4 separate regions of the Homo sapiens genome follow, and all the other regions are linked to region 1. The links are contacts of gene promoters, found by promoter capture Hi-C in blood cells and fetal thymus (Javierre and others, 2016). All regions are on one chromosome and are shown on one strand. The core of a region is centred on a gene start or on the middle of the fragment in contact, and the rest is flanking DNA. Distances in the headings are between cores, read along the strand shown.

Region 1 (6,000 bases), core at 1,352-3,851:
AAAACCATGTCATATGAGAAATAGCAAAAGGAAATTAGGAAGAAAAAAAAACAGGGCTACAGGATAACAGCGCTTTAGCATCTGGTGTTTTGAGTAGAAACGGCCATATTGGGCCGGGTGCGGTGGCTCACGCCTGTAATCCCAGCACTTTGGCGGGTGGATCACCTGAGGTCAGAAGTTCAAGACCAGCCTGGTCAACATGGTGAAAGCCCACCTCTACTAAAAATACAAAAAATTAGCTGGGCCTGGTAACAGGCACCTGTAATCCCAGCTACTTGGAAGGCTGAGGCAGGAAAATCGCTTGAACTCAGGAGGCAGAGGTTGCAGTGAGCTGAAATCATGCCATTGAACTCCAGCCTGGACAACAAGAGTGAAACTCCATCTAAAAAAAGAAAAAGAGAGAAAGAGAGAAAGAAAGAAAGAAAGAAAGAAAGAAAGAAAGAAAGAAAGAAAGAAAGAAAGAAAGAAAGAAAGGGAGAGAAAGAGAGAAAGAAAGAAAAAAATGGCCATATTGTGTAGAACAAAGGAACATTTAGAAGTTGCACAGAGGCAGGCTTCAGTTTATTACAGAAATGACTTTCAGAGAATCCAGTCTTTCCACAGCAGAGCAAGCAAACCAGGAGATAATGGGATTCCCTGGGCATTGAAGGTGACCCAGTGTCTACACACTGTATTGGAAATTCAAGTATCTAATAACTGGGGATCAAATTGGCCATTTTTGAGGTCCCTTCTTGCAGTTAGAATTTATGACTTATAATAGCTCTGATGTAAATATTTTAAATATTTTATTATAGGTGGAGTGTTCAGATTACAAATATTATAGAGAGCAGTATTCAGATGATAACTATATGACATGACGGATATGCTGATTAGCCTGATTTGATCATTCCACAATGTGTATATGTATCAAAGCATCACATTGTACAATTATTATTGTCAATTAAAAACAAAATATAACTTTTTGAAAAGATGATATGAATGTAATAGACTACAATAAAATTCTCAGAAGTTGTCATTGTGACACAGATTTCAAACTGTCTCTGTATAATAATATAGATGGTAGACTAGCCTTTAGATGTGTGCCTGTTGTAGACTTCCATATGCTATGTTCTTGAATGATAGAATTATTTCCACAGTGCAGCCCAAATCTTAGATACGAAGTTGTTTTATATAAGGACTCCTAAACAAGTGATTTGATTATGAATAATCTTAAATCTTTCATTGCACGGCAAAGTGAAAGTAGAAAATGAAGAAAATGTATAAATAACATTTTCAAGCTGTATTATCCATTCGACATATAATTATTGAGTGTCTAAAATTTGCACAACATTAGGCGTGCTTATATGGGATGATCAAAATGTAAATAAAGCAGAATGGCTGCCCTTGAATTTATAAATAATAATGATGATTATCTTTTATTAGGTTGCCATTACTATGGACAGTTCATTGTGATATCTTACATTACTATTGCATTTAAACTTACAGCAATTCTTTTGTCTAAGTATAATTATTATTCCCATTTTTCAAATACAGAAATTGAGGCTTAGAGAAATTATATATTACCTAACATCATGAAGCCAGGAGCTGGAATTATTCAAACCACATCACTTCCCTTCACTGCTGATTTCACATTGATACACTGCCCCTCCTCCACATGATATAGTATAATGTGCAATATGCTAAGTGGCATTAGAAACCACTCAAAGCATTATTGAAGTTCAGCTCAGGAAAAGAGACCAACTGAAATAGATACCACTTGTTAGCTGTTGGAAAAACAGCAGAGAGCCATTTCTGCCCTAGGTGCTCTTAATATTTGTAGCTGCCTACTCATATTTTTCCCCATGCTTGTGACACTGAGGTGGGTTTGTGTGAATAATTTTTACTGGAAGTGGTGCCTCTGGGTAGAGATTTCTCTTCAAATCTCATATTCAATGACAGGAAATATTAAAATTTGGCACGTTGAAACAAGGCCACACATTACGTCTTTTCCACCTTATTTAATATGAGTTGGTCTGGGAAAAGAAGTGGAATGGATGCCCTTTGCAAATTACGTCTGTTTATTAAAAGGTTTTTGTGGAAAAGATATGGCTTCTCCCAGATTTCACATTAGCTTCTGAGAAATATGAAAAATAGATGGGCTTAGACTTTCATAATCATGCCCAAATTCACAGGAAGGCTTCTTAGATTTCCAACATCTTGGGATCACATATTTTCTCATACCTCCACCCACGCCAGGAGGAAACATATGATAAAACACCTTGTTTCCTTCAAGCCTTATACTTCTGGTCAGATAAGGATAGAAAAACCAATAGTAGACAGGGCTTTGCTTTCTGAGGCGTATCCCTGACACTGTCATACTCAGGCCTCTGTTAGCCCTTTGCTTCATGGGTAATTTTTTTTCTTTCTTCACTTCCCATCACTAGTTTTGAGAGTTACATTGACATATCACTTATTCAATACCCCAGGAGATATTGAGTGTAAATATTAGGTTGGTGCAAAAGTAATTGCAGTTTTTGCCATCAAAATGGCAAAACCGCAACTACTTTTGCACCAACCTAATAAATATGTGAATGAATAAGTGAATGAATAAATGGCTTATCTCCCTTACCTTAATGATTTCTAGCCCCAAGAATTCCTTGACACTTTCTTGTGAATTTGCTGAAAGAATTGAATTTTCATTCCACTCTTTCTGAAAATAGCTCCTGAATCCCACCCACTTCCTCTGCCATTTTTCTTCAATAGTATCTTACATAGTTTGGCCCAACTCTTGGCAGGTAGAAATTGAGGTGTAGATATTAATGTGGAGAAACTTGGTAAAAGTGGAGAAAAGAAAAAGAACTAGTCTTGATCCTTCCAGTTTCTAACTCCAGTGCTGATTACATTAGATTCATGGCTCAGAGTGTAACTTAATTTATCTTCAGTCTGATTCTTCCTTCTGTACTTGTAGCTCTCCACAGAGAAATACTGTTAGCTCAATTACCTGGGAAAATCACTCAGTGTTGATGGAATTTGTGTTCCTGGCCTATCCCTCCTGCCCAGAACTGCATATTCTGTCCTTCCTTGGGGTCAGCCTGGTTTATGGTTTGATCATCACTGGGAACATTCTCATTGTGGTGTCCATTCACACAGAAACCTGTCTATGCACATCCATGTACTATTTCCTGGGCAGCCTTTCTGGGATTGAAATATGCTACACTGCAGTGGTGGTGCCCCATATCCTGGCCAACACCCTACAGTCAGAGAAGACCATCACTCTCCTGGGCTGTGCCACCCAGATGGCTTTCTTCATTGCACTGGGCAGTGCTGATTGCTTCCTCTTGGCTGCCATGGCCTATGACCGCTATGTGGCCATTTGCCACCCGTTGCAGTACCCTCTCCTCATGACATTGACTCTTTGTGTCCACTTGGTTGTGGCATCAGTCATCAGTGGTCTGTTCCTGTCCTTACAACTGGTGGCCTTCATCTTCTCTCTGCCATTCTGCCAGGCTCAGGGCATTGAGCACTTCTTTTGTGATGTGCCACCAGTCATGCATGTTGTTTGTGCTCAGAGTCACATTCATGAGCAGTCAGTGCTGGTGGCAGCCATACTAGCCATTGCTGTGCCTTTCTTCCTCATCACCACCTCCTACACCTTCATAGTGGCTGCTCTGCTCAAGATCCACTCGGCTGCTGGCCGCCACCGGGCCTTCTCCACCTGCTCTTCCCACCTCACTGTGGTGCTGCTGCAGTATGGCTGCTGTGCCTTCATGTACCTGTGCCCCAGCTCCAGCTACAACCCCAAGCAAGATCGGTTCATCTCACTGGTGTACACATTGGGAACCCCACTGCTCAACCCACTTATCTATGCCCTGAGGAACAGTGAGATGAAAGGGGCCGTAGGGAGAGTTCTTACCAGGAACTGCCTTTCCCAGAACAGCTAGGAAAGACGAGGGGACAGCCTATCAGGCAAGTATTTGGTTCCAGCCCACCAAATCTGTATGAAACTGAGATTTCTATCATTTGGTGTTAAAACTCATCTAAAAGATGGTATAAATTATATGGATACTGTTTATGTGTGCCAAAGATTTTTAAATATTTCTACAATTTGACTCTGTAATTTCTCTTCTTGGAAAGAACTACATGAGCATAAAGTGATATAAAGTGGCAAGTATAATACTTTGTCCAGTTACCAGCTGAGAAGAGATAGCTCACTCAATAGATTTTTAACTAAAAAAATATTTAAAAAGGGTTATCTGCAGTGGTTATAGGTAAGGAAACCAATAAAATGTGGCAGAGCACTAACACGCTAGCAATAGCAGGAAGCTTTCTCAGCCCTAGACTTAAAAGGTGTGCCATAGAAGAAGGGTGCAACATTATCAGAGTCCAGTGACAGTTAGATCTAAGCAGATAAACCACTTGGTAGAAACTGTGGCATCAGAAATAAAAAGAAACTATGACAGAACTATGGCCATGCAAGGAAGAGACAGGGAGGCAAATACCCCAGCGTCTCTTTGCTCAAAATCTTCCATTTCTTGCCCTGTCTCCATGGACCAAACTCAACTGGCAGCAAGAAGGGAGGGGAGACTGGGTGAATCAGTCCACAGAAGTCAGTCTCCTAGGGCACAGGGAAAGGCAGACAAAAACCTAGAGAACCAGGGTCAAACAGAGAACAATCAGAACAAATTTGTTGTTTATTATAGCATCATACATAAAAATGAAAATAGGCCAGTTGCGGTGGCTCATGCCTATAATCCCAGGACTTTGGGAGGCTGAGGTGGGCAGATCATGAAGTTAAGAGTTTGAGACCAGCCTGGCCAACATGGTGAAACCCCATCTCTACTAAAAGTACAAAAATTAGCCTGGCATGGTGGCGTGTGCCTGTAATCCCAGCTACTTGAGGGGCTGAGGCAGGAGAACCGCTTGAATCCAGGAGGCGGAGGTTGCCGTGAGCTGAGATTGCGTCATTGCACTCCAGCCTAGGGGACAGAGCGAGACTCCCTCGGTCTCAAAAAAAAAAAGAAAAGAAAAGAAAAGAAAAGAAAAGAAAGAAATTAATCCACTTCTCCTATAATAAAGTATTGGTTAAACAATTACTATGTAAAAAGATATTATTCAGCCTCAAATTTATATTTTCAAATACTAGTTATTAGTAATAGATAATATTAAGTGCTTCCTGTGTGCCAGAAATACATATTCTATCAATCTTCAAAAAGCTCATTAAGACTATTATCTCTGTTTTTTATATAAATGGGAGAGTTCTCAGAAAACAGACCCTGACAGTGAAACCAATATAGTAGGTTCCACTTACCTGCAGGTTTACTTTCCACAGTTGCAGTTACCCGCGGTCAATGCAATATAAAAATATTAAATAGAAAATTCCAGAAATGAGCAATTTGTAAGTTTTAAATTGTGTCCTGTCCGGAGTAAAGTGTTGAAATTCCAAGCCATCCTGCTCTATCCCACCTGGGAAATGAATCGTCCCTCCCTTTGTTCAGCATATCCACATTGAATACACTACCCATCTGTTACTATGTATAGAGTTCAGTACTATCCACAGCTTCAGGCATCTACTGCAGGAGTCGTGGACTGTATCCCCCTTGGACAAGGTAAGGGGGGACTATTGTATCTGTACATAACTATGGATCAGGAAACCAGTCCTAGGGAACATAATTGAGCTGTAATAAAGGAAGATTCTCTGCTGCCAGAGTGGAGGATACCAATAATGTGCCAAATTGGATTCAAAATTGCTACGGAATAGTGACTGCATTGTGCCTCCTGTTTCTCACCCTTTTGAATGGAGGTGTCTATTCTCATGTAAATATGGAGTTGATGCTAAGTACAAGATCCTCAATTTTGAGCCTGGATTGTAAATTTTATCTTTAAGATTTGTTTTATGGCACAACATATGTTTCATTCTGACATCCCACGTGTGTCCTGTGGATGTTGAGTGAAATCCATTAAGTCAGGTTAGCGAATAGTGTGGTTCTAATCTTCAATATCTATGCATATTTTTATCTACTT
Region 2 (6,000 bases), core at 1,095-3,594, 450 kb after region 1:
AGCCAGGCTGACCAACTCACTTACCAGCCAATTTTTAACTTTGCTTTTATAGAAATTGTCTTGGAGCTATTCCCTTTGTCCCTATTCTTGTTCTTCACTCTGCTCTTTGCTGCACACATCTACTTAACTTGCCACACGCTATACCCAGTGCTGTGATATAAAGGTGGGGGCTTCACCACTACCTACCACCACTGCCCTGCAGGCTCAGCTTGTTCCATCAGATGCAGCACCAGTACTAACCTTGCCCATACTCCTTTTGCTTTCTTCCCTCTCTACTTGTTTGGAAGTTATATGTCCTATATTCATTCTTTAGTGGTTATTCCAGCTAATATGTATTAGGTTGGTGCAAAAGTCATTGCAGTTTTTGCCATTTCAATGCAATTACTTCTGTACCAATCTATTTAGTTTTTCAAGTCTTATCAGTATCTTTACTTTCCTCCTGAAGAACCCGAAAATTAGTGTTGTAATTGCTCCCTCAACTTTACATGCTATTGTTGTCCAGCATTTTAATTCTAGTCTGTATTTCTCTCCCATAAATTACACACTCCTCTTACAGTGAAGGCTTTAGCAATTTCGTTCAGTGTTCCTTCTTGCATCTGATTCTCCATCTGAGATCATTTTCCTTCCACCTCAAGGACATCCTTTTGTAAGTGGAAACTCTGCTTTTGTCGGAAAATGTTTTTAGTAGCTTTTTAAAAAGTGTCACCTCAGGTAAGCTTTCATAATAAGTTCCTTTTTCTCTTAACATGATGAAGATAAATTTCACTGTTTCCTGGCTTTCATTGTTGACACAGAAGTCACCATCTGGCTGGTTTTCTACAGGTAGTCTGTATTTTCTCTCCAGATGCCCACAATCTTTTCTTTGGTTTTCTGCATCTCACCCTGATGTACTAGGTAAGTTGGTTTATCTTGCTTGAGATTCACTGGGCTCCCTAAGTCTGAGGTTTGGTGCCTTTCATCCAACCCTAAAAAATTTCTCTTTGAATATTGCCTCCTCCTATCTCCTGATGTTCCAAATAATGTTTATTAGATCTTATTCCATTGTTGTCTCAACCTCTTGCCTATTTTCCATTCTCTATCTGGAGTGCATTCTGTATAATTTCTTATCTTCCAATTCACAAATCCTCCTTCAATTTGTCTAATCTATTTAATCCATGCATTGACTTCTTACCTCAAATTTGTATTTTTCACTTCTAATTCAAAAAGGTTTTTCCACTAATTCAAAAAGTTCATTAATCGTTATTTCATTATAGTCTGTGCAACAATGCCAACATCTGAAGTATTTAAAAGATCAGCTTCTGTGTCTGTCTTTTCACTCATTGTGCCTTATTTCTTTGTTCAGTTTATAATTTTTGGGCAAGAGCACTCATTTGCCTTGAAAGTATATCTATGGGAATTGTTCTGAGGCCTTAGAGGAATTGCATTTGCTTCTGAAAATCACCTGGAAGCATAAACAAATGAGTACCACTTTAAATTCCCCAGTTAAGCTTTTTGGACCACACAGGTAGCCTAAGTTTGGACTGAAAGCCCATAGAAGGCCATTTGTGGTTATAAATCATCAGGGAAAATATTCTATAGTTTCCATGTGCCACTAAGGTTGAGACAAATGAGTTCCTTGCTGCGCCCTTCTATGGAGTGTTTATTTCTTGTTCACCTTTACACTGAGGGTGTCCAGCTTTATGAGGGAACCTACTAGATTTCTCATTTCCTGTTGCCCATACTTTGTGTAATCACTAAAATAGAAGGTTATGGTCTGCTGAATTTGGCAAAAATTCTGAGGAAAAGCTGGCTTTGGCAGTTACTTCCTAGGATTCCAGCTTTTGCTTCATTTTGAAGAGCCGTAGGTTCCTTACTTTCGTGCCTGCTCAGCAATATGTTTAAAAGTATTTTTTATAAATATATTTACCCAGTATCTTGGTTGCTTCTGCTGAAAGGACTTTTCAGAATTATCTAATCCAGCATACTGCCAAAAACAGAGCCCTGAATTAGTTTCAAATACGCACACCAACGCACTCCCCCTGCCCCGATTCTGCCAACGCGTGAACTGTAAGACCAAAGCTAAGCCTGCCTTTAAGGTGGAAGGAAAAGAAGAATTGAGGTGAGCCAGGCATGGTGGCTCACGCCTGTAATCACTACACTTTGGGAGGCCGAGGCAGGCAGATCACCTGAGGTTGGGAGTTCAAGACCAACCTGACCAACCTGAAGAAACCCCGTCTCTACTACAAATACAAAATTAGCCAGGCGTGGTGGCGCATGCCTGTAATCCCAGCTACTCCAGAGGCTGAGGCAGGAGAATTGCTTGAACCTAAGAGGCGGAGGTTGCAGTGAGCCAAGATTATGCCATTGCACTCCAGCCTGGGCAACAAGAGCGAAACTTCACCTCAAAAAAAAAAAAAAAAAGAATTGAGGTGAAGACAAAAATTGGGTAATTGACTGGAACATCACCACAAATATCCCATATTTCTTTTTCCTCAGGCATAAATGTCTTATGGCACTGTCCATTAGCACTAGAGATACTGGGGGAAAAGACAGCAGGGTAGTAATACTTTTGTGTCCTCAATAAAAGTGGAATAACCTGTCTTTTTTAAAAAATAAAGTAGTATATGGAGATAAGTATAGCACTTTTTCTCAGGTAAAAAAAAATTTTAAAGCTAGTTGCCACATGCTTATAGCTCCTACAATTATAACAAGTGTAAAGCTCTTAGTCCATTCATGGATAGCTATCCATGGTCATTTTACACTGCATAAAAGGAGAAAAATGTCAGGTTAAAATGATGCAGACCAATCAACCTATCTTACCTCCTCCAGCTTTCTCTTCATCCATGTCTGTCTCTAAATCCTGGATGGATCAGTTGAAGAACTAATGCTTTAAGTGACACAGGCAACAGAACAGTCTTAAAGCTGTGTGAAAAAAAATTGTTCCTAACAATTATCTTGTTTCTTTTTTGAGCTTTCCTGAGGTAGCTCTTTCTGGAAGCTACCAGAGTGATTTAAGTTTCCAGATGTGGTCTCCTTGGCTTTAGCCAATGGGGCCACTTGCTCGCCAGTTGAGATACCCTTTGTAGCTAGAAGTGACACTTAAGTCAAAGTCGGCAATTCCAGGGGATTCTCTGTGACCTACAGGACCCCAAATTAAGGGCTAGCTTCCTGCCTCAGCAACCTGAGCATTACCTACATATGATTTTCAGGATGAGAAGCTTCTCCTACCCAGATACCACACACCAACCTATCACTTACCATTATCTCAAACTCTATTGAAAGCAATGCATTCCTTTGAGATAAAGTTTCCTCTATGAATGCTCTCTTAAAATGGTGATCACCACATCATATTGTCTACATTCACCATGCTAGTATTACTGCCAGTGGAGTTGAAGCCAGTAATCCTGGGTTCCACTTTGAGGCTATAACCTTAAGCAAGTCACTAGATCAGTCCCTTAAGTCACAGTTAACTGACCACATACATCAGAATAACCTGGATGGGCCAGGCATGGTGGCTTATGCCTGTAATCCCAGCACTTTGGGAGGCCTAGGTGGATGGATCACCTGAGGTCAGGAGTTCAAGACCAGCCTGGCCAACATGGTGAAACCCCGTCTCTACTAAAAATACAAGTATTAGCTGGATGTGGTGGCGGGTGCCTGTAGTCCCAGCTCATCAAGAGGCTGAGGCAGGAGAATCGCTTTAATCCGGGAGGCAGAGGTTGCACTGAGCTGAGATCGTGGCATTGCACTCCAGCCCGGGTGACAAGAGTGAAATTCCGTCTCAAAAAAAAAAACAAAAACAAAAACAAAAAAAAAGAGGATAACCTGGATGACTTACCATGATTTTAGATTCCTCAGTCCCACCTACTGAATCGATTTTTGGAAATGGAACATGGGACTCTGCATTTTCAACAAGCATACAGGGAATTCTTATGTAACTTGCTCAGATATACAGGGCTAGGTCTAGTCAATTCCATCTATGAAAATATTAAGAACCTTTGCTTCAGATATAAAAATAGACAAAATGAGAAAAAAATGATATGGAAAGACTGGTTCTTAGTTCTTCCTGGGTGAGGTGATTCCAGTTTGTAGCAAAGAAAATTAGTTCAGCAAGAAAAACAAGTGGCCGGCCATGCGCAGTGCCTCACACCTGTAATGCCAGCACTTTGGGAGGCCAAGAAGGGTGGATCACTTGAGGTCAGGAGTTTGAGACCAGCCTGGCCAACATGGTGAAATCCTGTCTCTACTAAAAATACAAAATTAGCCAGGCGTGGTGGTACACACCTGTAATCCCAGCTACTCGGGAGGCTGAGGCAGAAGAATCGCTTGAACCCAGGAGGCTGAGGTTGCAGTGAGCCGAGATTGTGCCCCTGAGTGACAGAGCAAGACTCTGTCTAAAAAAAAAAAAGTGGCCAAGTGAGGTCCCAGCTTTGACCTCTGTCACAAAGTACATCAGTGTCAAGAAACTTGTGAGATAGGGCCTTTACACATCATTCTGTGTAACATCTCATTGTATTTAGATATGGCACAGAGAGAAGTGTTTTTAAGATCATAGATCTTGTCTATGGCCATATCACCCTGAACGCACACGATCTCGTCTGATCATAGATCTTAGCTATAGAGGATTCTCATGGATTGCAATCTATGAGAAAAGATCCATCTGTTTCACTCTCTAATCTAAACCTAACCTTGACACAACGCTTAGCATATAGGAGGTGCTTGGCAAATATTTATTGAATGAGATAAACAAATGGACCAATCCAGAAGGAAGAGAGAAGAGTAGGGTTTGTATCTAGCTCAATGCCAAAGGATAAGAACATAACAGGGAAATAAAGTGTTGCTGACAAGCAGCCAGGCTTTTCTATTTAGATAAAAATCATCTCAAGCAGGGCTATCAAAACTCTTTGGAAAGTAAACTCTTAATAGCTTTTTGGCTTTGTACTTCAACCTCTAATCTAACACTACAATTGTTAGACACAAATCAAGCTTTAAAAGCTAGTTGATTTCCTGGTCTCACTAGCCCATGAAAGTTTTCATACCCAAGTCCTAGTTCAATAAAACAAGACAGGACCATCATCAGGAGCAGCTATATAATTTTAATCTAAAGATTTGGGCATACAGAAAGCATTTCACATAAATTCTCTTGAGTCTTTAATTATATGACAGGACATAAGGACCTCAGAAAAATAAGTATCTTCCCATAGATCTTAACCCTTGATCTCTGCAGCAAAGATAGTCCCTGGTAATCCAGGTAATATGGTCTGTAAAATATTAATAAATAGGCCTATTGACTTCTGACTAAAGGACTGCATATAGCCTGAGAAGCAACATTATGGCCCAGTGGTCAGTACTTATATACATGGGCCTTTTGATCCTACATTTTCCTATTACGTAGTTGGGATTGGTAGTTTCTAATCTTCTAGTCCTAAGTGTTATATTTAAGAGAGCTACGTATTACAGTGGGCCTTATTCAAGGTTAGTTTTGTCAAATGTTGCAGAAGAATTCCAGTAATTAAAGTAAGTCATTAATTCTTTATGCTTCAGTTTCCTATCTCTAAATTAGCAATAAGCTCCCATGTTCAACTTCAGCCACATTCAATTTTTAAGAATCTTCAGAAGAAAAAATGTTTCACATATAGTTAACAAGAATGTTGCTTGATAAAGAGTTGGGGCTGAGCTCAAAATAAATCCTGGTATAACCTCCTTCTGGTTGCTCTGGAAAGGACACTGATACATAAGGAAGTAACAAAGATGCAAAGCAGGGAAGAAATAACAGCTTGAAGTGAAGAAATGACACAGACCCCCCACATACACACTTTAAAAACTTTATTTATATAAAAAACTCATTTGTTTTTAAAAGCATTAACAAGACAGAAAGAAAAGAGAAAAGGTATGGAGCAGAACACAAGCCCCTTAGTAGTGTTCGGTGGGAAGGTGGGATTTTTGGTTCTCTGGAATTGAATGTTTAGTGTTTTTTATAAACAAAAGAGAGAAAAAAAAGTTAAAGGTCCCCAAAAGCCC
Region 3 (6,000 bases), core at 2,154-4,653, 410 kb after region 1:
CACCTAATCTCCAAAAAAATCTGACCAGCCCAGTGTTAGTGGATGTGGAATGTGGGGTGGGGTGTGAATTGGATTGACCACTTTCAACAACAATTTAGCATCAAAATAAACATTGAAGATATATATACTCTATGATCCTGCAGTTCTATTCGTAGGCATATAATCTAAAGAAGTTCTGGCACATTTGCACTGTAAAACATGTACCAGAAATTTGTTTGTCATAGCAAAAAAGTGAAAGCAACCAAATGTCCATCAACAATAGAAATTCATGCATAAGATAGGCCCTATTCATGGCCAAGCGCGGTGGCTCATGCCTGTAATCTCAGCACTTCGGGAGGCCGAGGCGGGTGGATCACCTGAGGTCAGGAGTTCGATACCAGCCTGGCCAACATGGCGAAACCCCATCTCTACTAAAAATACAAAAATTAGCCAGGCATGGTGGCAGGCACCTGTAATCTCAGCTACTAGGGGGGTGCTGAGACAGGAGAATTGCTCGAACCTGGGAGGCGGAGGTTGCAGTGAGCCAAGATCGCGCCACTGCACTCCAGCCTGGGCAATAGCATGAAACTCAGTCTCAAAAAAAAAAAAAAAAAAAGAGGCTATTCATACATCAGAAACTAACAAGTGGCAAAAATTAATGAACTACAGGTCTCCGCATCAACATGAATGTGGCTGTAAAACACAAGATTGAATAAAATAAGCAAGTCACAGAGAATGTACAACTTATTTTTTCATTTGTATAAAATTTTAAAATAGGCAAAACTAAACAGTTATAATGTTTAAAAATGTATTACAGATAAACTATTTAAAATAAAACAAGGAATAATTGATGCAAAATTTAAGAAAGTGTCTACCTCTTATGGAGATAAAAGGGATAGAATTAGGAGAAGCACACGGGAGCCATCTCAGATCATGCTACTCCACGCGTGATCCTTGGCCCACTGGTATCTGGGTCACTTGGTAGCCTGTTAGAAATACAGAATCTCAGACTCTTTCACACACCTACTAAATCAGAATCCACACTTTAAAATGATCCCCAGGTGATTCATAAGCTATTAAAGATATTTGTAAAGTTCTATTTCTAAGGTGGATGGTACAAAAATGGGTGTTTATTTTAGCAATATTCTTTAAATGCCAGAGGTTTTAATACACTTTTGTATGTATCATATATTTTATAATTAATAATATTTTGAGGCCAGGCACGGTGGCTCACGCCTGTAATCCCACCACTTTGGGAGACCGAGGCAAGTGGATCACTTGAGCCCAGGAGTTCAAGACTAGCCTGGGCAACATGGTGAAATCCCGTCTCTATTATAAATTTTTTAAAAAGAAAAATAATATTTTTGAACTATATAGTTTTAATGATGTTTTATTTAAAAATATGTATAAAGACAGAAACAAAAATGAAGACCACAAAGATGACAAAGAACTGAAACCATTTAGACTCAAAATCCAGGGCTATTCTCACTATAATGATATAATAAGGCCCACTACCTTTTTTTTTTTTTTTACATCTCTTGTGCTGCATCAGTAAACAGAACTTTGGTTAGTTTTATGAAATGCAACATCTAACCCCTTGTTTTCTGGGAAAAAGAAACTGCAATGACTTGGAGTTAAGAATGGCCGGGTGCAGTGTTGGCTCAGGCGGGGCACGGTGGTGGCTCATGCCTGTAATCTCAGCACTTTGGGAGGCCAAGGCAGATGGATCACCTGAGGTCAGGAGATCGAGACCAGCCTGGCCAAAATGGTGAAACCCCGTATCTACTAAAAATACAAAAACTAGCCGGGGGTGGTGGCAGGCGCCTGTAATCCCAGCTCCTCAGGAGGCTGAGGCAGGAGAATTGCTTGCACCTGCGAGGTGGATGTTGCGGTGAGTGGAGATCGCGCCACTGCACTCCAGCCTGGGCAACAGAGTGAGACTCTGTCTCAAAAACAAAACAAAACAAAAAAAGAATGTAAGAATGTGGATACCACCTCACTCACACACACTCATTCTCAGGCTGTAAAAAAATCCCTCACCCTCCTTCTAGCCGGCAAGCATACAGTACCATTTGGCAAAGGTACAGCAAAGGTGGGCTTGAGACCCAGGCTCCATCTTTCTCCTCAGTAGCAAAGGAATAAGGCCCACTAACTGAGTGTTTGCCCCAAGACAGTAAATGAACAGACTGCAATGAATTTATCCATTTCTTTTCTTTTCTTTTCTTTTTTGAGATGGAGTTGCACTCTTGTTGCCCAAGCTGGAGTGCAATGGCACGATCTTGGCTCCCTGCAACCTCCACCTCCCAGGTTCAAGCGATTCTCCTGTCTCAGCCTCCAGAGTAGCTGGGACTACAGGTGCCTGCCACCACATCCGGCTAATTTTTGTATTTTTTTAGTAGAGGCGGCGTTTCACCAATTTGGCCAAGCTAGTTTTGAACTCCTGACGTCAGGGGATCCGCCCACCTCAGCCTCCCAAAGTGCTAGGATTACAGGTGTAAGCCACCGGGTGCCCCGCCGAATTTATCTATTTCTAATGGTCATGCTGCAACTGGATGGACAAAAGCCCATGATAAAAATTGATAAACTACTAGAAGCTTCAGTGGTTTGATCATTTTCATTGCAATATTCTGGAATGGGGGGTGGGTAGGAAAGCTATTTTCCCATTCAGACAGTCCCTGCCTTTAATAATACATAATGCTTTCCTGGAAAATGTTTTGGAAAGTAGAATGCCTGAAATTTGAACTTTATACTTAAATGTTTTATTTGGTGGGGGAAGGAGGAAAGGAGGAAAGGAAGGAATTCAATCCATAGAGCTAGAGAAAAAAATTATGACGTCTCAAACATGATATAAATGCTTAACTTGATTTTACATCTGAATGTTATACACCATATGCAGATATTTAAACTATTAAAAACAGATTGTATTTTATTTAATTTATTTATTTATTTATTTATGTTTTTATTGAGACGGGGTCTCGCTCTGTCACCCAGGCTGGAATGTAGTGGCGCAATCTTGGCTCACTGCAACCTCTGCCTCCCGGGTTCAAGCGATTCTCCTGCCTCAGCCTCCTGAGTAGTTGGCACTACAGGCGTGTGCCACTACACCCAACTAATTTTTGTATTTTTAGTAGAGACGGAGTTTCACCATGTTGATTGGGCAGGATGGTCTCCATCTCTTGACCTCGTGATCTGCCCATCTCAGCCTCCCAAAGTGTTGGGATTACAGGCGTGTATCCTTGCAACTCAAAATCCTTCTGGTGTATCCTTGCAACTCAAAATCCTTCTGGTGTATCCTTGCAACTCAAAATCCTTGTTCATTCAGTTTACTTGAAATGATATTTGGCATATTCCTTCTCTCAGGGTTCACAAAGTACCAAGGAATAAGAATGGGACAGAGAGGGATACCTGCATATTGGCATTTACCATAACATCTTTATTCCCATTTGGTTTCCAACTGCCCAACCACGTTGATCATATTTATGACTCCATGTCCCAGAAGGAAAGCCTCTCCAGGCTCTCAGCTACTCCTTTTTCCCTCTCAGAGGGCAGTGGACACATCCATCCACTGTCCCATGCCACTCTGGGTTCATAGGAATATTGTCTCAGACTCTCTCTGCCTGGCCCTGCCACACGAACATTTCTTCTCAATGTCTACACTTCAAAAGGCACAGAAGCGGCCGAACGTGGTGGCTCACGCCTGTAATCCCAACAGTTTGGAAGGCCGAGGCGGGTGGATCACAAGGTCAAGAGATCGAGACCATCCTGGCCAACATGGTGAAACCCCATCTCTGCTAAAAATACAAAAAAATTAGCTGGGCGTGGTGGTGCATGCCTGTAGTCTCAGCTACTCGGGAGGCTGAGGCAGGAGAATCACTTGAACCCGGGAGGCAGAGGTTGCAGTGAGCCGAGATCGCGCCACTGCACTCAAGCCTGGGTGACAGAGCAAGACTCTTATCTCAAAAAAAAAAAAAGAAAAACGAAAAAAGGTGCAGAAGCTCTAGCAATTTGGGCCACTGGATAGATTCCTCCTTAAAGATTCACCAGACTTAGAGCTCACTTCTCCTCTGACTGTCTTCACTTTACAAGTCTAAGGAATTTTTTTCTAGTCTTTAAGAGAAAAGAAGACACTGGAAAAACTGGCTCTGACTGATCACATATTCTCATGTGCCTGTGGTTAAGGCCTGAGTTTATTCTCTGGGTTATTCTCTGAATTTATTCTCAGGATGGTTCTAGCTTTTGAAGTTCAAAAGCTTTTTAATCACAAAGGTTTTTATCTCTACCTTGAGTTTCCAAAACATATTTTAAACCTCAAAGGCCAAGGATTGACTTCTTTGGTATCTGCACTATGCTGCAACAACCCTATCCCGAGGCATGGCTGCCAAGAGGTCAAGTTTGAACTGGGAAGGACCCCCAGGTTAAAAAATATATATATTATCTGGAAAAAAACCTGATACATCAAAATAATATTCTGCTACACGTAGTTGTAAAGATCCACACATTTGTTCCATGACTGCACCTTATTTTTAGCCACAAGCTTTGCCAACATACTTATAACATTTTGTACATGTGTTTTAAGTTTGACTGTTTTCTTTTATAATTGAACACAGTTGTCAGATCTGCTTAAATTTGATAAGCATCAAAATTTACTGTTTCTGGCATACTAAATAATAGCTTCCTTTGACACAATTGGAAAATCATTAACATCAGCACTTTATTTTTCCAATTCCACTATACTTTTATAAATAAGGGCAAATATGCAACAAAATGTTCAAATCACTGCACAGACATTGCCATATTTAGATGGCAACACTGCTAAAATGAAACTATTGGCTGGCAGACAACAGTAACATAATGTAACTTGAAATAGTTATTTGTCTACTAAAATAAGAAAGTCAAAATTTGGTATAGAAAAGTTTAGAAGTGTTTATGTGTAATATATGGAAATGATAGTCATGTAAAAGCTAATGACTACCTGAATTTTGATTCATTAATTTTTGTTCATCTTCACCTAGCTCCATATCTCTTAAATATAAACAATTATTTTAAAAAATTATTTGTAACAGCTTTATTTAGATACAAGTCACATACCATACATTTCACCCATTTAAAGTATATAATTCAGAGGCCGAGGTGGGTGGATCACTTGAGGTCAGGAGTTCGAGACCAGCCTGGCCAACATGGTGAAACCTCATCTCTACTAAAAATACAAAAATTAGCTGGGCGTGTTGGCGGGTGCCTGTAATCCCAGCTACTCAGGAGGCTGAGCCACGAGAATCGCTTGAACCCAGGAGGTGGAGGTTGCCATGAGCTGAGATCTGCCATTGCTCTGCAGCCTGGGCAACAAGAGCGAAACTCCGTCTCAAAAAATAAAATAAAATAAAACTAAAGCATACAATTCAATGAATTTTAGTGTATTTACAGAACTGTACAACCATCACCACAATCAATTTTAGAAAATTTTCATTATCCCAAAAAGAAGCCCTGTACTCTTTAGCCACCATCTGCCAATCCCTCTATACCCTGCAGTTCTTTGCAATAATTAGTCTACTTTCTGCCACAATAATTTGCCTATTTTGACATTTTATATAAGTGGAATCACAAAAAAATGTGTTAGAGATGGGTTTCTTTCACTTAACAAAATGTTCCTAAGTTTATCCATGAAGTACCTTGTATCAGTACTTCATTCCTTTTTATGGCTGAATAATATTCCATTGTATGGGTATATGGCTAGACTACTCTTTATTTATTTATCAGTTAATAGATATTTGGATTGTTTCTACCTTTCAGCGATTGTGAACAATACCGCTATTAACATTCATGTACAAATTTTTGCATGAACATATATTTTCAATTCTCTTGGTTATATATCTAGGAGAGGAATTGCTAGGCTATAGGGAAACTCTATGTTTAACCTTTTGAGGAATTGTCAGACTGTTCCAAAGTGGCTGCATCATTTTACATTTTCACCAACAGTGCATGAGAGTTTCAATTTCCCCACATCCTCACCAACACTTATTATTT
Region 4 (6,000 bases), core at 1,310-3,809, 390 kb after region 1:
CCTCTCCACCTCTCTTTAACCTGTATCAATGCAAACCCTACCTCCCTACACCACCCCCCAAAAAATCTTTCCTGATTAAACCAGCCAGAAGTAATTTCTGCATTCATAGAACCTTTCACAGCACTTCTAAGCACTTCTTTTAGGGCACTTAAACCTTTGTGCTGTTCATTATATAATCATTGAAGTACAGTAATATCTCTTCTACCAGACTGTAACCTCCTTGATAATAAAAACCATGATAGTCAAAGGACCTAGGGCAGCTCCTTGCACATGGTAGGCATTTAATTAATATCTATCACATTAATTAATGCATAAAATACCTGCATATAAGCATGAATAAGCAAACAGTAGGTATATGTAGGTAGGATTTGAACATGTGCTACAGAGAGGATATTCAAGGTAAGGTAAGAGAAAGTTTGTTTATTTATTTATTATTTATGTAGGCAGAGTCTCACTGTTGCCCAGGCTGGACTATGGAGGGCAGTGGTGCGATCTCAGCTCACTGCAGCTTCCGCCTCCTGGGTTCAAGCGATTCTCATGCTTCAGCCTCCTGAGTAGCAGGGATTACAGGCATGCACCACCACCCCCGGCTAATTTTTGTATTTTTAGTAAAGACAGGGTTTCTCCATATTGGCCAGGTAGGTCTTGAACTCCTGGTCTCAAGTGATCCACCTGCCTCAGCCTCCCAAAGTGCTGGGATTACAGGTGTGAGTCACCACGCCCAGTCAGATAAGAGGAAGTTTTTGTTTTTCCTTCACAGTGACAGCAGTTTACATGTAGACACCAAATTCATCCAGGGCACATTTTTCTGAGCCTCACCTGGTATCAGTAGATTAAGTAACCATGCTTGTCTTTCTTACCAATCTAAGCCCACTGTTACAGACTCAACAAAAATGTCCACCCTTTCTCTCTTGACTGCATCAAACTATAGAGGCTTGATAAGCCAATTGCTCTTTCCCAGGCCCTTTGTGGCTAGAAGTGATCATATGATATACATCTGGCCAATGAGCTTTAGGAGAAATCAGCCAGCTGGTTCTTGGCTTCTGCAGAAGACATTTCCTGACAAGACCACTGCAAAACTTCTTGTAAACAAAGAATAAATATTCTTACAGCTTAAGTCACCTTGCTTGAGTTTTCTGTCACTTGTAGCTGGACAAATGTAATAGACCCATCTAACAAATATTCCATTAATTCAGCAAGTTATTCTTTTAAGCTCCTACTAAAACCTAAGCCCTATTCTCTTCTCACCTTACACAAAGTTTGCCATCCTCGCACATACTCTATTCTTTTTTCTCTCTTTATCTATTGGGAAATATTGGTCCTTCCTCTCCTCTACTTTACATTTTGTGGGTCCATGAGAAAACACCTGCTTAATTAATTCATTCTATTCCAAAATAGAGAAGGAAGGCAATTAGACTTAACCCATGCTTTACAAACTGACATGCCTCTCAGGTGAATCTTTACAACCACACTTTGTGGTATTTTACGCTCATTTTGCAAACAGAAACCTTAGGCTAATTGTAACCGAGGTAAATGTGATGAAGCCAGATTGTCTTTACCTGTTTAATTGCAAAAGCCATGCTCTTTCGGCCTCCTTGGGCTCTCTCCCACCTACTCTCACTTCCATATAAATTGGCTTCTTTGGGCTTATGCTGTTTAAACAATCAACAAAGTCCACACATTCACCTCCATTTCTATGTCTGTATTTGTCCTTCACAGTCAGCACTTGGTTATCAGCATCCATGGGAAGACAGCAGTTGCACAGATACCCCAAACATAACTCAGTCTCAGAAACCCACAAGGTAATGTGTTTTGACAGCAGATTTTCCTTCTAAGTGCTTGTGGAGGCTAACACTAAGAAAAACTGGAGCTTTCTAAATACTCATCCAACGATGGCAAAGTAAAAAAGCCCAGGCTGAGAAAGGCAGCCACCTGGTAGGGTTAGAAATGACAGCAGGTGGGTGCCGGGCGCAGTGGCTCACACTTGTAATCCTAGCATTTTCGGAGGCCGAGGTGGGAGGATCACCTGAGGTCAGGAGTTCAAGCCAGCCTGGCCAACATGGTGAAACCCCATCTCTACTAAAAATACAAAAATTAGCCAGGCATTTTGGAGCATGCTTGTAATCCCAGTGACTCGGGAGGCTGAGGCAGGAGAATCGCTTGAATCCAGGAGGCGGAGGTTGCAGCAAGCTGAGATCATGCCACTGCACTCCAGCCTGGGCAACAGAGTAAGACTGTCCCAAAAAAAAAAAAAAAAGAAATGACAGTAGGTGGGGTAGTAGGCCCCATGTAGACAGTGGGAAGTTAGCTACACAATTGTATGTTCAGACTCTGAACTCAGAAATTAATACAGATCAAAAGAAAAGCCATGCTCTTTTGACTTTTTCTAAGGAAACGAGGGAGAAGAGGAGGAAGAAACTAGCAGCAGCTACAATTTACTGAGTATCTGCAATGTGTTCCTGTTCTCTCACAAGTAGTCTATCATTTAACTCTTACAGCAAGCCTGGAAGTCAGGAACCATCACATCCTCTCTTTTTAACATAGAGTTTATCATTTTAACCATTCAAATATACAATTTACAATCTAAGTATATTGCATACAATATAGATTGTACATATACAATTTAAGTGCATTCACAATATTGTGCAAGCATCAACACTGTCCCTTTTCAGAATCTTTCATCATCTCAGACAGAAACTCTGTACCTATTAACAACTTCCCATTCCCTCCCTTCTTCCCCCAGCCCCTAGTCTACTTTCTGTATCTATGAATTTGCCTATTCTAGTTATCTTGTATTTGTCTGTTCTTGCACTGCTATGAAGAAATACATGAGACTGGGTAATTTATAAAGAAAAGAGGTTTAATTTGCTTACAGTTCTGAAGACTGTACAGGTAGCATGGCTGAGAAGCCCTCAGGAAACTTTCAATCATGGCAGAAGGTGAAGGGGAAGCAGGGATGTCTTACATAGCTGGAGCAGGAAGAAGAGAGGTGCCACGCACTTTTTTTTTTTTTTTTTTTTGAAATGGAGTCTCATTCTGTCACCCAGAGTGCAGTGGCACTATCTCAGCTCACTGCAACATCTGCCTCCTGGGTGCAAGCGATTCTCATGCTTCAGCCTCCCGAGTAGCTGGGATTACAGGCGGGCACCACCACACCCAGCTAATGTTTGTATTTTTAGTAGAGACAGGGTTTCACCATGCTGGCCAGGCTGGCCTCGAACTCCTGACCTCAGGTGATCCACCTGCCTCAGCCTCCCAAAGTACTGGGATTACAGGTGTTAGCCACTGCGCCCAGCCAGATGCCACACACTTTTAAACAACCAGATATCATGAGAACTCACTCACTATCACAAGAACAGCAAGGCAGAAGTCCTCCCCCATGATCCAATCACCTCCCACTACGCCCCTCCTCCAACACTGGGGATTACAACTGGACATGAGATTTGAGTGGAACACAATTCCAAACCATATCATTGTATAAGTGAGATCATGCAACAGTTGTCCTTTTGAGTCTGGTTTACTTCATTTAACATAAAGTGACGGTTCACACACGTTGTATGTAACCAGATACATACTATATACAGTGGAACACTCTATGGTAAAATTATAGTTAAAATGAATGATGAACTATAACTATGTTATTAGCATTGGCTGGGCATGGTGGCTCATGCCAGCAATCCCAGCACTTTGGGAGGCCAAGGTGAGAGGATTGCTTGAGGCCAGGAGTTTAAGACCATCCTGGGCAACAAAGAGACACCCCATCTCTATTTTTTTTAATAACTATATTAACATCCTGAAGAGTTCTTCAAAATATTATGTTGAGAGCAAAACAGCAAATGGCAAACTAATATGTAAACTCTGGGATTAAATCATAGTTCTTCCACTTTCTAACTGTATATAACTGTGGAATTTACTTCTCTGTGTCTGTTTTCCATCTGTAAAATAAGAATAATAATTGGACCTAATGTTGGTGTCGAGGGACTAAATGGACTTAATATGTACCTTTGCCTTAAAAGAGTGCTGGCACCAATAAATGCTCATGATTATTATTATTACTTATAGATTCACATCAGTAGTAAAATATAGACTTGCTAAAAAAAATTATTCTAAACGTGGAAATAATGGGAAAAGGTGTGGGATGTCCTTTCAATATCATATGGGGACATTATTTAATAGATTTAATAGGTCCACCAAGGGTAATTCAGGAGAATATACTTGATTTGACTCACTGCTTCCTATTGACTAAAAGTCTCAAATTTAGTGAAATTACATGTTAACTTACACATTCTTGTTCAGTAGAGATGCAAATAATTTCTGTCTTATAGAAAAGATAGCCCCAAAGTTTACAGTTTATTGCATATAGGACAAGAACCACTTGAATATCCAATCCAATATCTTATTGTTTTAATTTTTTTGAAAATTATGCTTTCCTGCACTGAAGGATACAAGCCAAATTTATGATAATGGTTGTCTCTCTAGCAAGGGAGAGGCATAGGACTCGGGTAGAATACATAGGGATTTCAATGACCTGTAGTGTGTTATCTGATTAAATATTTATGTAAGGCTGGGCATGGTGACTCATGCCTGTAATCCCAGCACTTTGAGAGGCTGAGGCGGGAGGATCACTTGAGGTCAGGAGTTTGAGACCAGCCTAGACAACATGGTGAAACTCTGTCTCTACTAAAAATACAAAAATTAGCTGGGCATAGTGGCACATGCCTGTAATCCCAGCTACTCGGGAGGTTGAGGCATGAGAATCACTTGAACCTGGGAAGTGGAGATTGCAGTAAGCCAAGGTCACACCACTGCACTCCAGCCTGGGCAACATAGTGTGACTCTGTCTCAAAAAAAAAAAAACACCTTGTAAACTGGGCACAGTGGCTCACGCCTATAATCCCAGCACTTTGGGAAACTGAGGTGGATGGATCACCTGAGGTCAGGAGTTCGAGACCAGCCTAGCCAATATGGTGAAACTCCCTCTCTACTAAAAATACAAATATTAGCCAGGCATGGTAGTGGGCATCTGTGATCCCAGCTACTCAGGAGGCTGAGGCAGGAGAATCGCTTGAACCTGAGAGGCGGAGCTCGCAGTGGGCCAAGATCGCCCCACTGCACTCTGCTTGGGTGATAAAGTGAGACTCCATCTCAAATAAATAAATATGTATGTAGGCCAGGCATGGTGGCATGTGCCTGAAGTCCCAGCTATTCAAGACGGTGAGGAGGCAGGAGGATCGCTTGAGCCCAGGAGTTTGAGGCCAGTCTGGGCAACAGAATGAGACCCCATCTCTGAAAAAATTTTTTAATACAAATAAAAAATAAACATATTTGAAACGTATAACAAAAATATTCATGTTTATTAAGTCAAGTGGTAGACACATCTAAATCTTTGTGTTTTCAATTAAAAAAAAATTACCCAAAAAAATCAAAGTAACAAAGTACTGAAGCTTCTTGTTAGGGCAAGACAAAAAGCTCTGTGCATTCATTTATGCCAAATTATTGACCAGGCACTCTTTGACAGGATGATGGGACCACATAAAGATTTGTAGACTGGAATCCAAGAGACACGGGTTACAATTTTGAGTCTAGAACTAATTAGTTGTATGACCCTGGGTAAGTCACTTCTCATTGAACACCAGCTTTATTTCCTGTTAAGATGAGTGCTGAGCTGGGCATGGTGGCTCACGTCTATAATTCCAGCAGCACTGAAAAATTATGTGCATACCACTCCACTTATGAATTTTCTTTCTTTCTTTTTTTTTTTAGTCAGGGTCTCCCTATGTCACCCAGACTAGAGTGCAGTGGCACAATCTCAGCTCACTGCAACCTCCACCTCCTGGGTTCAAGAGATTCTCTCACCTCAGACTCCCAAGTAGCTGGGTCTACAGGTGTGCACCACCAAACCCGGTTAATTTTTTTGTGTTTTTAGTAGAGATGGTGTTTCGCCATGTTGGCCAGACTGGTCTCGAACTCCTGGCCTCCAGTGATCTGCCCGCCTTGGTC

Evidence for each region. Contacts are between HindIII fragments. The CHiCAGO score rates a contact against its expected background, and 5 or more counts as called.
Region 2: a fragment that was not itself captured here is called in contact with the fragment with the promoter of OR10W1 in region 1 in 1 of 17 cell types (endothelial precursors); the score reaches 5.7 in endothelial precursors.
Region 3: a contact is called between a fragment that was not itself captured here and the fragment with the promoter of OR10W1 in region 1, in 1 of 17 cell types (endothelial precursors). The highest score is 8.0, in endothelial precursors.
Region 4: a fragment that was not itself captured here is called in contact with the fragment with the promoter of OR10W1 in region 1 in 1 of 17 cell types (endothelial precursors); the score reaches 7.5 in endothelial precursors.

The regions. Positions count from the first base shown.
Region 1 is chr11:58,264,861-58,270,860 of GRCh38, reverse strand. OR10W1 (olfactory receptor family 10 subfamily W member 1) reads left to right here and starts at 2,601. Exons shown (of 1, transcript NM_207374.3): 1 at 2,601-4,069. The coding sequence starts at 3,003. The coding sequence ends at 3,920. The HindIII fragment of the contact is 7,272 bases long and covers 1-4,304 here.
Region 2 is chr11:57,818,236-57,824,235 of GRCh38, reverse strand. It overlaps CTNND1 (catenin delta 1), which reads right to left. Exons shown (of 21, transcript NM_001085458.2): 21 at 4,696-6,000. TMX2-CTNND1 (TMX2-CTNND1 readthrough (NMD candidate)) reads right to left here. Exons shown (of 21, transcript NR_037646.1): 21 at 5,056-6,000. Among named protein-coding and RNA genes, the nearest start is that of CTNND1, 59 kb to the right of the region's middle. The HindIII fragment of the contact is 1,710 bases long and covers 1,490-3,199 here.
Region 3 is chr11:57,854,327-57,860,326 of GRCh38, reverse strand. No RefSeq gene overlaps it. Among named protein-coding and RNA genes, the nearest start is that of CTNND1, 96 kb to the right of the region's middle. The HindIII fragment of the contact is 1,656 bases long and covers 2,576-4,231 here.
Region 4 is chr11:57,875,768-57,881,767 of GRCh38, reverse strand. No RefSeq gene overlaps it. Among named protein-coding and RNA genes, the nearest start is that of CTNND1, 120 kb to the right of the region's middle. The HindIII fragment of the contact is 5,774 bases long and covers 1-5,446 here.